Linked DNA regions of Homo sapiens: regions 2 and 3 are each linked to region 1. Evidence: promoter capture Hi-C in human tissues and cell types (Jung and others, 2019). All regions are on one chromosome and are shown on one strand. Each heading gives the region's core, a stretch centred on a gene start or on the middle of the fragment in contact. The rest is flanking DNA. Distances are from core to core; before and after follow the strand shown. Region 1 holds the start of SLITRK5 (SLIT and NTRK like family member 5). Region 2 has its middle 290 kb from the start of MIR4500. Region 3 overlaps LOC105370302 (a long non-coding RNA gene).

What was found. The method cuts DNA at HindIII sites, captures the fragments that hold promoters and counts their contacts. A contact is called where the count stands out against the background at its distance.
Region 2: a fragment that was not itself captured here is called in contact with the fragment with the promoter of SLITRK5 in region 1 in 3 of the 25 tissues and cell types used here (heart left ventricle, lymphoblastoid cells and mesendoderm cells).
Region 3: a contact is called between a fragment that was not itself captured here and the fragment with the promoter of SLITRK5 in region 1, in 1 of the 25 tissues and cell types used here (dorsolateral prefrontal cortex).

The regions. Positions count from the first base shown.
Region 1 is chr13:87,669,668-87,673,268 of GRCh38, forward strand. It overlaps SLITRK5 (SLIT and NTRK like family member 5), which reads left to right and starts at 1,704. Exons shown (of 2, transcript NM_001384609.1): 1 at 1,704-2,542. LOC124900338 (formin-like protein 5) reads right to left here and starts at 2,700. Exons shown (of 2, transcript XM_047430855.1): 1 at 1,169-2,700. The coding sequence starts at 2,638. The coding sequence ends at 2,114. It overlaps MIR4500HG (MIR4500 host gene), which reads right to left and starts at 1,296. Exons shown (of 6, transcript NR_033829.1): 1 at 1,169-1,296. RefSeq lists an enhancer at 1,431-1,932. The HindIII fragment of the contact is 26,915 bases long and covers 1-3,601 here.
Region 2 is chr13:87,330,042-87,333,642 of GRCh38, forward strand. No RefSeq gene overlaps it. Among named protein-coding and RNA genes, the nearest start is that of MIR4500, 290 kb to the right of the region's middle. The HindIII fragment of the contact is 5,486 bases long and covers 1-3,601 here.
Region 3 is chr13:87,386,296-87,389,896 of GRCh38, forward strand. All of the region lies in intron 4 of LOC105370302 (a long non-coding RNA gene), which reads left to right. Among named protein-coding and RNA genes, the nearest start is that of MIR4500, 230 kb to the right of the region's middle. The HindIII fragment of the contact is 4,654 bases long and covers 1-3,601 here.

The DNA of each region.
Region 1 (3,601 bases), core at 454-2,953:
AAACTAGATTATTAGCATAAGTGTTTCTAACAAAACTGTAACCTAAACTAATTCCAAACATATTTAATACTTCTTAGTTGAATAATATTTCCTTTAATTAGAACAATAAATATTTAAAATAAAAATAATACAAAACCATGAATTAAACTTTGCTATTGAATGAAATTATAAAGATTTAGAACAGTGATAAAATATAACAGCTTTATTTCAGCTATTTTGAAAAAATCAATAATCGATTAAGACAATTTAGGACCTTTAAGAACTTCTACAAAGTTAATCGATATTGAAAATTATGTTTCTGATAGGACTCAATATTTATATTCCAAAGGCTTCTGGCTGTAATTCCTATATAATTTTAAATTTAAATATTTCATTTCATTTTGAAAATATAAAAGTAATTTTAAACTTAAAATAAATTTTCTGAAATGTTTATATAATGTTAAAAGTTAATGACTGAATAAAAAATACAGAAATAAGCCTTTTGTGGATGACGTGTAAGTTATATTTGTTGATGCAATGTATCTACAGCTAGTGGCTATCATTCCTAGGTCAAATGCTTCTAAATTTAATGAAACGTTCATTACAAGATTTTGTTTTTATTGTCTGAAATTACATATTACTTCTTTCCTTCCTCTCCCTTGAATATAACCCATACTTAAACAAAATTGCTTCCAAATAAAGTTTTTATGGTATAAAGTAAAAATATATATATTCACACAACATACGCAGGGGAAAGTTCAAAAAAGATTGCAGTACCTCAGGAGACTGCAATGTTCATCACCTGAGATATATATACATCTCAGAACATAGACATATTATCAGACTCTATATCAATATTAAACATATGATTAACCAGATTATAACACAGTATTATCCCAAATATTACTAAGAATAAAACAATATCAATAATAATTAAGACGTAATTAATTGCAAAATAAAGTGGGTAAAATATATTTACATGGAGAAACTAACTACATAGTTATCAAAGGAACAGGCACATGTGCACTCAGCCTGCACTGGGTCACTTACTATTATCAACTTTTCTCTTATACCCGGGATGAACGGCAGGTCTAATATTACAAATATTGAAAACATGTCTTATGAAAGTAAAGACCCCTTTTTGGGGATGGAAGTGTCTGGTTTCATGGAAAGACCCAAGAATACTTACTGTAGAGATGACTCTAGTGGAGTTTAGCAGATGACTCTTCAAGAAACTCGCTTTCTATCGATATTGCATTTACTTAGGGGTTTTCCAGCTTTTTAGTACACACCAGATGTATTCACAAACATTCCCTCTGAAAGTCTTTCACATTCCCTTGTGTTGCCTAGACACACCTATAAAACGTAATTCTATTAAAGAGAAAAGAAAAGTAGCGCCCTTGTTTGCAGCTAGGAGGAACCACTCCCTTTTCCAGGATCCTTAACAGTAAGTACACGAGACAGCAGCATTCTGAATGGCAGGAGGAAGGCAGGCGATCAGCACAGGGCTGGAATCATCTGTTCCTGACCACCAGCAAGCCTGGCACTGCCGGGGTTATTTCCACTCCTCCCTTTCCCAATCCGAGAATTGCACAGTCCCACGCTCGAATTACACACATGGTCCAAGACTTCTCTCTCTTCCTACGAATGTGACATCCAAGGGGGCCCCGGTTGCGCCGCCCTAGCCCAGGGACGCCTTCGCCCTCGGCTGCCATCTATCGGCCACCGAGCGCCCGCTTCGCCCCGGGCCCATCATGTCTGCTGCAGCTTGGCTCGCACCAGAGGCGCGACAATAAACAAGTGCACTGGACTGGGCCCTGCACCCGCTCCGGAGCAGCTGTCTCAGAGACCCGGTGTTGCTTACCGCGTTGCCACCTCCTCGGCGCCCGGGAGGAAGACGCAACTTTCTCGGAGTTTTTTTTAGAGCCACCGGGCTGCCAGGACAAGCCACAGGCATAGAACGACGCGGTTGCTGCCCGCCCCCCCCTTCCCCCAGAAACCCCAAAGGATGTCGGTGATAGAGAGTTCCAACTAATGACGATTGTGCGCCGCATCTGGGGAAGGGATACAGAAAAAAACCCTGCAAACACCGTGAGGATGAAACTGCCAAAGGGATGCAAGAGCCTCTCAAATACTAATTAGGGGCCGCGGCGGCGGCGGGCTCGGCGCGGAGACAGCGTCGGCGGGATCCCAGCGCGGTGGTCGCCGCTGCGCTGGGGGGCGGAGGACAGCGCAGGAGCTGCAGCCGCCGCCTTCGCTGGAGCAGCCGAGGGGCCGGTGCCACCTTTGCTCGCCCCCTCACTACCATGTACAGTGTGCGCTGCAAGAAGAAGGCGGGAGATGCATGCACACCCCCGCGACCCGCTCCCTCTGGCTCGTCCCCCGGCGTGCGCCACTGACCAGGGGGGAATGTGGTGAAGACGGCGAGGAGGAGAGCCGAGGGGGGAGGGGAGGGCCGGCCGGCGCGAACCCAGGCCGGAGGGTGCGAGGAGCCAGAGGAGGCTGGAGGGGGCGGCGGCCACAGCTGGGTCGGAGAAAGTTGCCCCCTATGCAGATGGCAACTGTGAGTACCCCTGTGGGGGGGAGGGTGCAGCGAAGGCTGCCAGGGACCCCGCGATCGCGCCTTAACACGTATTGGAGCGAGTGTGCGAGTGATCATGAGTGTGAGCGGGTGCGAGCGCTCGGCGGGGCTGACCGTCACGTTGGCGGGGCCGGCGGGGCCAGGCAGTCTTCTCCGCGTCCCCCTCCTCCCGCTCCGTGCCTCCCCTCCCAGCAGCTCCCCCTCCCCGCCCCGCCCGGCTCCGGCTCCCGGCCCCTACCGCGAGGCGCCTCTCCAGCCGGACCTCCGCCGCCCCCTCCCGCCGCCTCCCTATCCCGCCGCTGCAGAACGCCCCCCGCTCTCCACCCCCCAACCCTGCTGCCCGCTCCGACTACCGCGGAGAGCACCGGGGAGAGCCTTTTGGGGAGCCCCGGAACCCGCGGTCGCCACCGCGGCGGCGGCCCCAGGCTGGAGGCGTCCGGGCGCCTCTTTCCTCCAGCCTCTGGGACTGCGCTGCTCGCAGTCTCCTCGCCCTGCCTGGGCTTGAGAAACCTAGTGCATACCCCAAAGAGGGTTTTTGTGTATGTGTGTGTTTTTAAAGGGTGGCTATGATGACTGGGCCTTGGAGATGTGAGACTGGGTAAGTCTATCGTTTACTTTGCAAAAGAGGTGTGTGTGTGTGTGTGTGTGTGTGTGTGTGTGTGTGTGTGTGTGTGTGTGTGTCTATGTGGCGGGGTGGTTTTCCTTCCCTCTCCTCCCTCCCCTTCTTCCTCCGTTTTCCCTTCCTTCTCTTTGGGGCGGGGTGGGGGAGGGGGAGCCTCGCGTCCTGGAACTCCGGGTGCTTCTGCCTGGGCTGCTGCTTGAGCAGCTGTGCCCGGAGCCTCCGGTGCGGCCTGGGTGCTGGGCTCCAGTCCGAGAGGCTCCATGCTGCTTACTGCAGGGACGTACAGGGCGGTGATCCAGTATCTAAATTCTTTGGGAGAAAATGAATAGTTCCCCCGCCCCCGCCCTCCAGGAAAAAAAAAAATCTGAGAATCTGAGAATGTTCAGCGCACCCGCGAATTTGCATCGGAGGTGCGTTTC
Region 2 (3,601 bases), core at 702-3,201, 340 kb before region 1:
TTATATCATGTTTATCCTCTCAACCTGACTGTTATCTCTTTAAAATCAGAATATTTACATTACATATATATATATACACATATGTTTGTGTGTGTGTGTGTATATATACATATATACACACACCAGTATATATATATATATATATATATATATATATATATATATATATATATGTATATTCTGGTCCTTCATTAGGAAAGAAGTAATAAATTTGTAAGCTTGAAAGAGACATTTCAACTAATATCTCATTATTATTATTATATAATCAGCATAAAGAGTGATAGTGCACGCAGTTGGGCATTTTTCTTAGGATAAGTGATACATACTTGATGATTGATTTTACACAAATCCCACCAATCTGCTATATTGTAAATGAAGACAGAAAAATTATCTTACTCATCAGAAAAAAATATCAAGGCAAATTTGTTCTTGGAAACAATATGCTCATAAGATTTTAGTAATTACTTCTGAGCCTTTTTGTATTTTACTTACTACCATCCTCCATATGCCTTTGATATTTTTTGGCATATATACATCTTCCATATTTCTTTTTACATAAAAATATTATAAAAACACTGTTTCTCAAAGCTGGTCCATTGCTCATACTTTTCTAAGTACTTTTGGAGTACCATATTCAAGGAAATGTACAAACTGAATTGAACTTAATTTGTAATTATGACTATATCTGCTTTTAACCATTCCTATCTTCATGATACATCATGTACTCTATATAGCACAAAAATGTCTCAAAAGAAACTTATTTCCTAATTTTCCTTTCATTGTTAAAAAACACTTAAACCAAATATAGTGGTGTTCATTTTATCACTATATGAGCAAATATATGTTAAATGTGTACCTTGTATATAAGAACATATTTTTATATTAGCTTTGCTTAGATTATTATGTATAGTTTTTCATTCTGATGTTCAATATATTATATTTAGTCTCAAAGAATCTGGCTTCAATGCAAAGTAAGATTTATCTACTAAATTATATTTTTACAGCTATACATTCATATTTTCTGTCTCTGATTCAACAATATTCTGGTGATGATGCACTTAGGTTATTAAAATAGGTAGACTACATTGTTTAATTTGTATTCTGTCATTTGTTCATCCATAGGTCAATGTAGAAAGTATAAAAATTTCTGTTGTTCTCTTTTAATGTTGAGGTTTCCTGATGTCTTTGTCTTGCTCAAACCCAGTCACCCGCTCTCAGACTGTCATTCACCATCCTGTTCGGCTGGCTTGTGCTGTTTCACAGGAGTTTCCATGTGGGTCACACAGTCTGAGATTGCATGCTTCAGTTTCTGCCAGCCAGTCCTACAGGTCAGGACCTGCTGTTACCCAACCTTGCATAAGTCCTGGAGAGCTGCGCCAGAGCAAAACAATGCTGACAGACTGGCAGTGTCCCAAGGCCTTGTTGGTAAGAATCCTGTCTTACATTTGGTCTCTCCCACTGGAATGACAGAAACTCCAAATTATCCTGCATTCTTTGGCCCACAAAACACTATCCTATTTAATAGAACTCTTCCTTGAAAATTGTTTCCTTAAGAAATAGTGATAGAGAATTTCATTCAGATAAACAGGTAATTGTAAACATAAGAGGATTGCTTTTAACATTTTTTATTTTAAACAATTTTAAAGTTACAGAAAAATTGTAAGCATAGTATAAGGATTTTCCATATACTTATCAAAGACATTCACCAAGTTTTAACATTTGGAAGCATGGAATCATATATTCTCTGTGTGTAGGGGGAGTATGTGTGTGTTCGTATGGTTTTATATATGATTATATATATATGGTTTATATATACAGTATATGGATGTTGTGTATATATACAAACACACCACATACAGTCATGTGTCACATAATGATATTTTGGTCAAGGACAGATCACATATACAATGTTGATTCTGTAAGATTACAATATTGTATTTTTACTGTACCTTTTTTATGTGTAGCTACAAAAATACTAACATCATGTTACAATTCCCTACAGTATTCAGTACAATAACATGCTTGTATTTGTTCGCTTTCATGCCACTGATAAAAACATACCCAAGACTGGGAAGAAAAAGATGTATAATTAGACTTACAGTTCCGCATGGCCAGGGAGGTCTCAGAATCACAGCAGGAGGCAAAAGACATTTCTTACATGATGGCGGCAAGAGAAAATGAGGGAAAAGCAAAAGCGGAAAACCCTGATAAACCCATCACATCTCATGAAACTTATTCACTATCACGAGAATAGCACAGGAAACACTAACACCCATGATTCAATTACCTCTCCCTGGGTCCCTCCCACAACATGTGGGAATTCTGGGAGACACAATTCAAGTTGAGATTTGGGTAGGGACACAGCCAAATCATATCATTTTGCCTGTGACCCCTCCAAATATCATGTCCTCATATGTCAAAATCAATCATGTCTTCCCAACAGTCCCCAAAAGTCTTAACTCATTTCAACATTAACCCAAAAGTCCACAGTCCAAAGTCTCATCTGCGACGAGGCAAGTGCCTTCCACCTATGAGCTTGTAAAATCAAAAGCAAGCTAGTTATTTTGTAGATACAATGGGGGTATGGGTATCGAGTAAATACAGTCATTCCACTTGGGAGAAATTGGCCAAAACAAAGGGGTTACAGGGCCCATGCAAGTCCAAAATACAATGGGGCAGTCAAATTTCAAAGTTCCAAAATGATCTCCTTTGACTCCAGGTCTAACATCCAGGTCATGCTGATGCAAGGGGTGGGTTCCCATGGTCTTTGATAGCTCTGACCCTGTGGCTTTGCAGGGTACAGCCTCCCTCCTGGTTGTTTTCATGGGTTGAAGTTGAGTGTCTGTGGCTTTTCCAGGTGCACAGTGCAAGTGTGGGTGGATCTGTCCAACTGTCGGTGGACCTACCCTTCTGGGGTGTGGAGGACAGTGGCCCTCTTCTCACAGCTCCACTAAGCAGGGCCCCATAGAGACTCTTTGGGGGTTCTCCGACTCCACATTTTCCTTCTGCACTGCCTTAGCAGAGATTCTCCATGAGGGCCCTGACCCTGTAGCAAACTTTTTACTAGGCATCCAGGCATTTCCAACATCTTCTGAAATCTAGACAGAGGTTCCCAAACCTCAATTATTGACTTCTGGGCAACTGCAGGCTTAACACCACGTGGAAACTGCCAAGGCTTGGGGTTTCCAGCCTCTGAAGCCAAAGCTCAAGCTGTACATTGGCCCTTTTGAGCCATGGCTGGAGCAGCTGGCACACAGAGCACTACGTCTCTAGGCTGCATACAGCACATGGACGCTGGGCCCAGGCCACAAAACCACTTTTTCCTCCTGGATCTCCAAGCATATGATGGGAGGGGATGGCATGAAGGTCTCTAACGTGGCCTGGAGACATTTTGCCCATGGTCTCGGGGATTAACATTAGGCTCCTTGCTACTTATGCAAATTTCTGTAGCCAGCTTGAATTTCTCCACAGAAAATGGGATTTTCTTTTCTATCACATAATCAGGCTGCAAATTTTCCAAACTTGTATGCTCTGCTTCCTTTATAAAACTGAATGCCTTTAACGGCAGCCAAGTCACGTTGAGATGTGAAGCCAGCTGGAC
Region 3 (3,601 bases), core at 330-2,829, 280 kb before region 1:
GGAATGTGTATCGTATGTGTCACTCAGACATTGGCAGAGATCAGCCTGCAGAAGTGAAATTGGTTTAGCCTGCAGGGGATAAACATAAGGGTGCAAGGGCCAATTCTCCAGAGAAACAGGAAGACATGAGTTGCTATCAGCCATTATTTTCACTCATTGGCGATGGGTGTCACAGCCAAAATGAATCTAGCAGGGGACTAGTAGCATCCACCTCTTCATGTTTATCAAAGTTAATATAGTTGAAGGTATATTGCTTCTCTCTACCTAGGCTGCCTATCAAACCCTGCCGTGCCAGAGAAAGTTGGGCCCTGCTTAAGTGTTGTTTATACAGCACTTTATGCCTCTAGGATCAATTATCACAGTAAATATAATCACTCTCTTTTCTTTTCTTTCTTCTCCTTCTTCTTTTTTTTTTTTTTGGTAAGACACAGAACTTCTCTGTCTCCCAGGCTACAGTGCACGATCTCAACCACTGCAACCTCTGCTTCTCGGTTCGAGAGATTCTCCTGTCTCAACTTGCCAGGTAGCTGGGATTACAGGAGTGTGCCACAATGCCCAGATAGTCTTTTGTACTTTAGTAGAGACAGGGGTTTCACTATGTTTGCCAGGCTGGTCCCGAACTCCTGACCTCAAGTAATCTACCCGAAGTGCTAGGATTACAGGTGTGAGCCACCGTGCCCGGCCTAATCATTTTCTTCGAAGTAGGTCTTCACAAGTCTGAGACTTACTTGAGGATAATAATTAAGTCTGATTAATCTTTATTTCCTCAGACCAAATGCAGTAATTAAATGATATATTATTGTAGATTACATATATGTTGTATTTTAGTTTTTTCAAGAAGTTGATAAAATGACAAACACAAAACTGAAATTTGGATATATAGCCCAGTTGGTATAAAATAGTGCTTTAGAGGTGAGTCTCTTGGAGTAAGTAAACTACTGTTCAAATGTTTGACAGAGAAGTTCTTTTAACTCCCTAAGCTTCAATTGCTTAATTTTACATTTTTACAATTAGAATTTTATATTAATTTTATAAGGATGAAAAGTATTGCCATGATCCTGTTTCTTGAACTAATTGAGAAAATGTATATAAAAGGGATTCGTATAGTAAGTAGAATGGTAAATATTAAGTGTTGAGCATATGCTAGATATTTTAATGATGATTGTAGGAAAAACCATGGTTGCAAGAAAATTCCAAGTATCAAAATCTCATGTTGATATTTCATGCTTTAAGTAATTTTAAAGAATCAACAGATAAAAAGTAGCACGTTAGACCTGAATTTGATATTTTCTGAATCTGTTTTATTAGATATTCAGATTCATGGCACATGACACAATGGATCATGAATATTGTTGCTTTATCTGAAGCTAGACATATCATTCAGATCTGTATGTATTCTCATTGCTGAGCATAGAGTTTATCCTGGCAATGTCAATATAACATATTCATGTAATCATGGAATTATTCTCTAAATGGGAGCTTCATGTTTAGTCTCATATGGTTCTATCAGTTTATAAAATATATCTCAGGAGTGACAGGAAACATGAAAAAGAAAGTACCTTGCATAATGAAGACCTAACTCCTGCAGCTTTTTTAATTAATTCAGTTTCTTTAATTAATTATCCTTTAAGACTGTGCCCGCCGTAGCTATGTTTCACTCTGCCAGAACACTAGCAAAGATCACCAGACTGTTTCTGAGACAGTTTTTTAAATTTTTTTAGAACTGAAAAATATGAATTCATTTAATAAATTGCCCCATCCAAAATTATGCCAAGAACACTTTGAGATGGTGATGGCTGCAATGCATTCTTTCTTCTGAAATCTTTGCTAAGAAACCACATTAATAACTTAAACCTCTAATTACAGATGAAAGGCTTGTATTTCATTTTGCCTTTTATACCTGTTTTCAAATGTTCTATTTGCTTTCCACAACTTCTTATTCATCAAAATTTGGGAAGCTATGAATTAGAGGTTTGAGGATTATGTAATTCAGAAAAAAACTGCCTAGTTTTTCATTGTCATTAAAAGCTATGAATAAATTAAAATAGTGTAAAAATGTGTTGGATTAATCCACATTTGGTTGGTTTAAAGTAACATAATACATGTGTATGCATGTCTGTCTGTGTGTGTGTACTTTATCACAATAATGAATATTGCTGGAAAGTGAATGTGCTGGAATAGCTTCAGAGAGCTTATCTCCATATATTTTCTTAATTGGCACATTATTGTACATATTTATGGGCTACAGTGTGAGATTTTCATACGTGTATTCAATGGGTAATGATCAAATAAGGGTAATTAGCATATCCACCAACTCAAACAATTATTATTTATTTGTGTTGGGGACATTCAAAGTCCTCTCTTCTAGCTATTTGAAAATACGCTATAAATTATTGTTAATTGTAATCACTCTACAGTACTATAGAAAACTAGAAACTATTGCTTCTATCTAGCTGTAATTTTATACCCCTTAACCAAACTCTCCCTATCCTGCCCTCACCACTACCTTTCCCAGCCTCTAGTAAGCATTATTCTACTCTACTTCCATGAGAGCAATTTATTTTTGCTTTCACATACAAGTGAGAATGTGCAGTATTTATCCTTCGATGCCAGGCTTATTTCACTTATCTTAATGTCCTCCAGGGTTATCCATATTGCCATGAAAGGCAGGATTTCGGTTTTTCTTATAGCGAAATAGCATTTCATTGTGTGTGTGTGTGTGTGTGTGTGTGTGTATGTATATATATATAAAATATTTTTAATACATTCATCTATTAATGGACAGTTAGTTTGATTCCATGTTTTGAGTATTATGAATAGCACAGCAATAAACATGAGAGTGCTGATATCTATTTCACATATTGATTTCCTTTCCTTTGGATATATACACAGTAGATGGATTGGTTGATTTAATGGTAGTACCATTTTTAGTTTTTTGAAAAACTTTTATAGTGTTTTCCATAATGGCTATGCTAATTTACATTACCACCAACAGTGTATAAGTGTTATCTTTCTTTTCTCCACATTCTCACCAGTATTTGTCATTTTTTTCTCTTTTTGTAAGTAGCCATTGTAATGTGAGTGAGGTCATATCTCATTGTGGTTTTGATTTGCATTTCTATCATGATTAGTGATGTCGATTATTTTTTATGCACTTGTTGGACATTTGTATGTTTTCTTTTCAGAAATGTCTATTCATATAATTTGCTCATAAGTAAACCAATTTATTTGGTATTTTGCTGTTGAGTTGTTTGGGGTTTTGTGTATTATAGATATTAATCCTTTATCAGATGAATGGTTTGTAAGTATTTTCTACTATTCTGCAGGTTTTCTCTTCACTCTGTGGATTGTTTCCTTTGCTGTGCAGAAGCTTTTTAGTTTGATATAATGCCTCTTGTCTATTTTTGCTTTCATTGGCTGTGTTTTTTTATATCTTATCCATAAATTCTTCGCCCAACCCAATGTTTTGAAGTGTTTCCCGTGTTTTCTTCTACTAGTTTCATAGTTCCCCATCTTACATTTAAGTCTTTAATCCATTTCGAGTTCATATTTGCATATAGTGAGAGAAAGCGGTCTAGTTTTCTTATTCTGCATATGGATA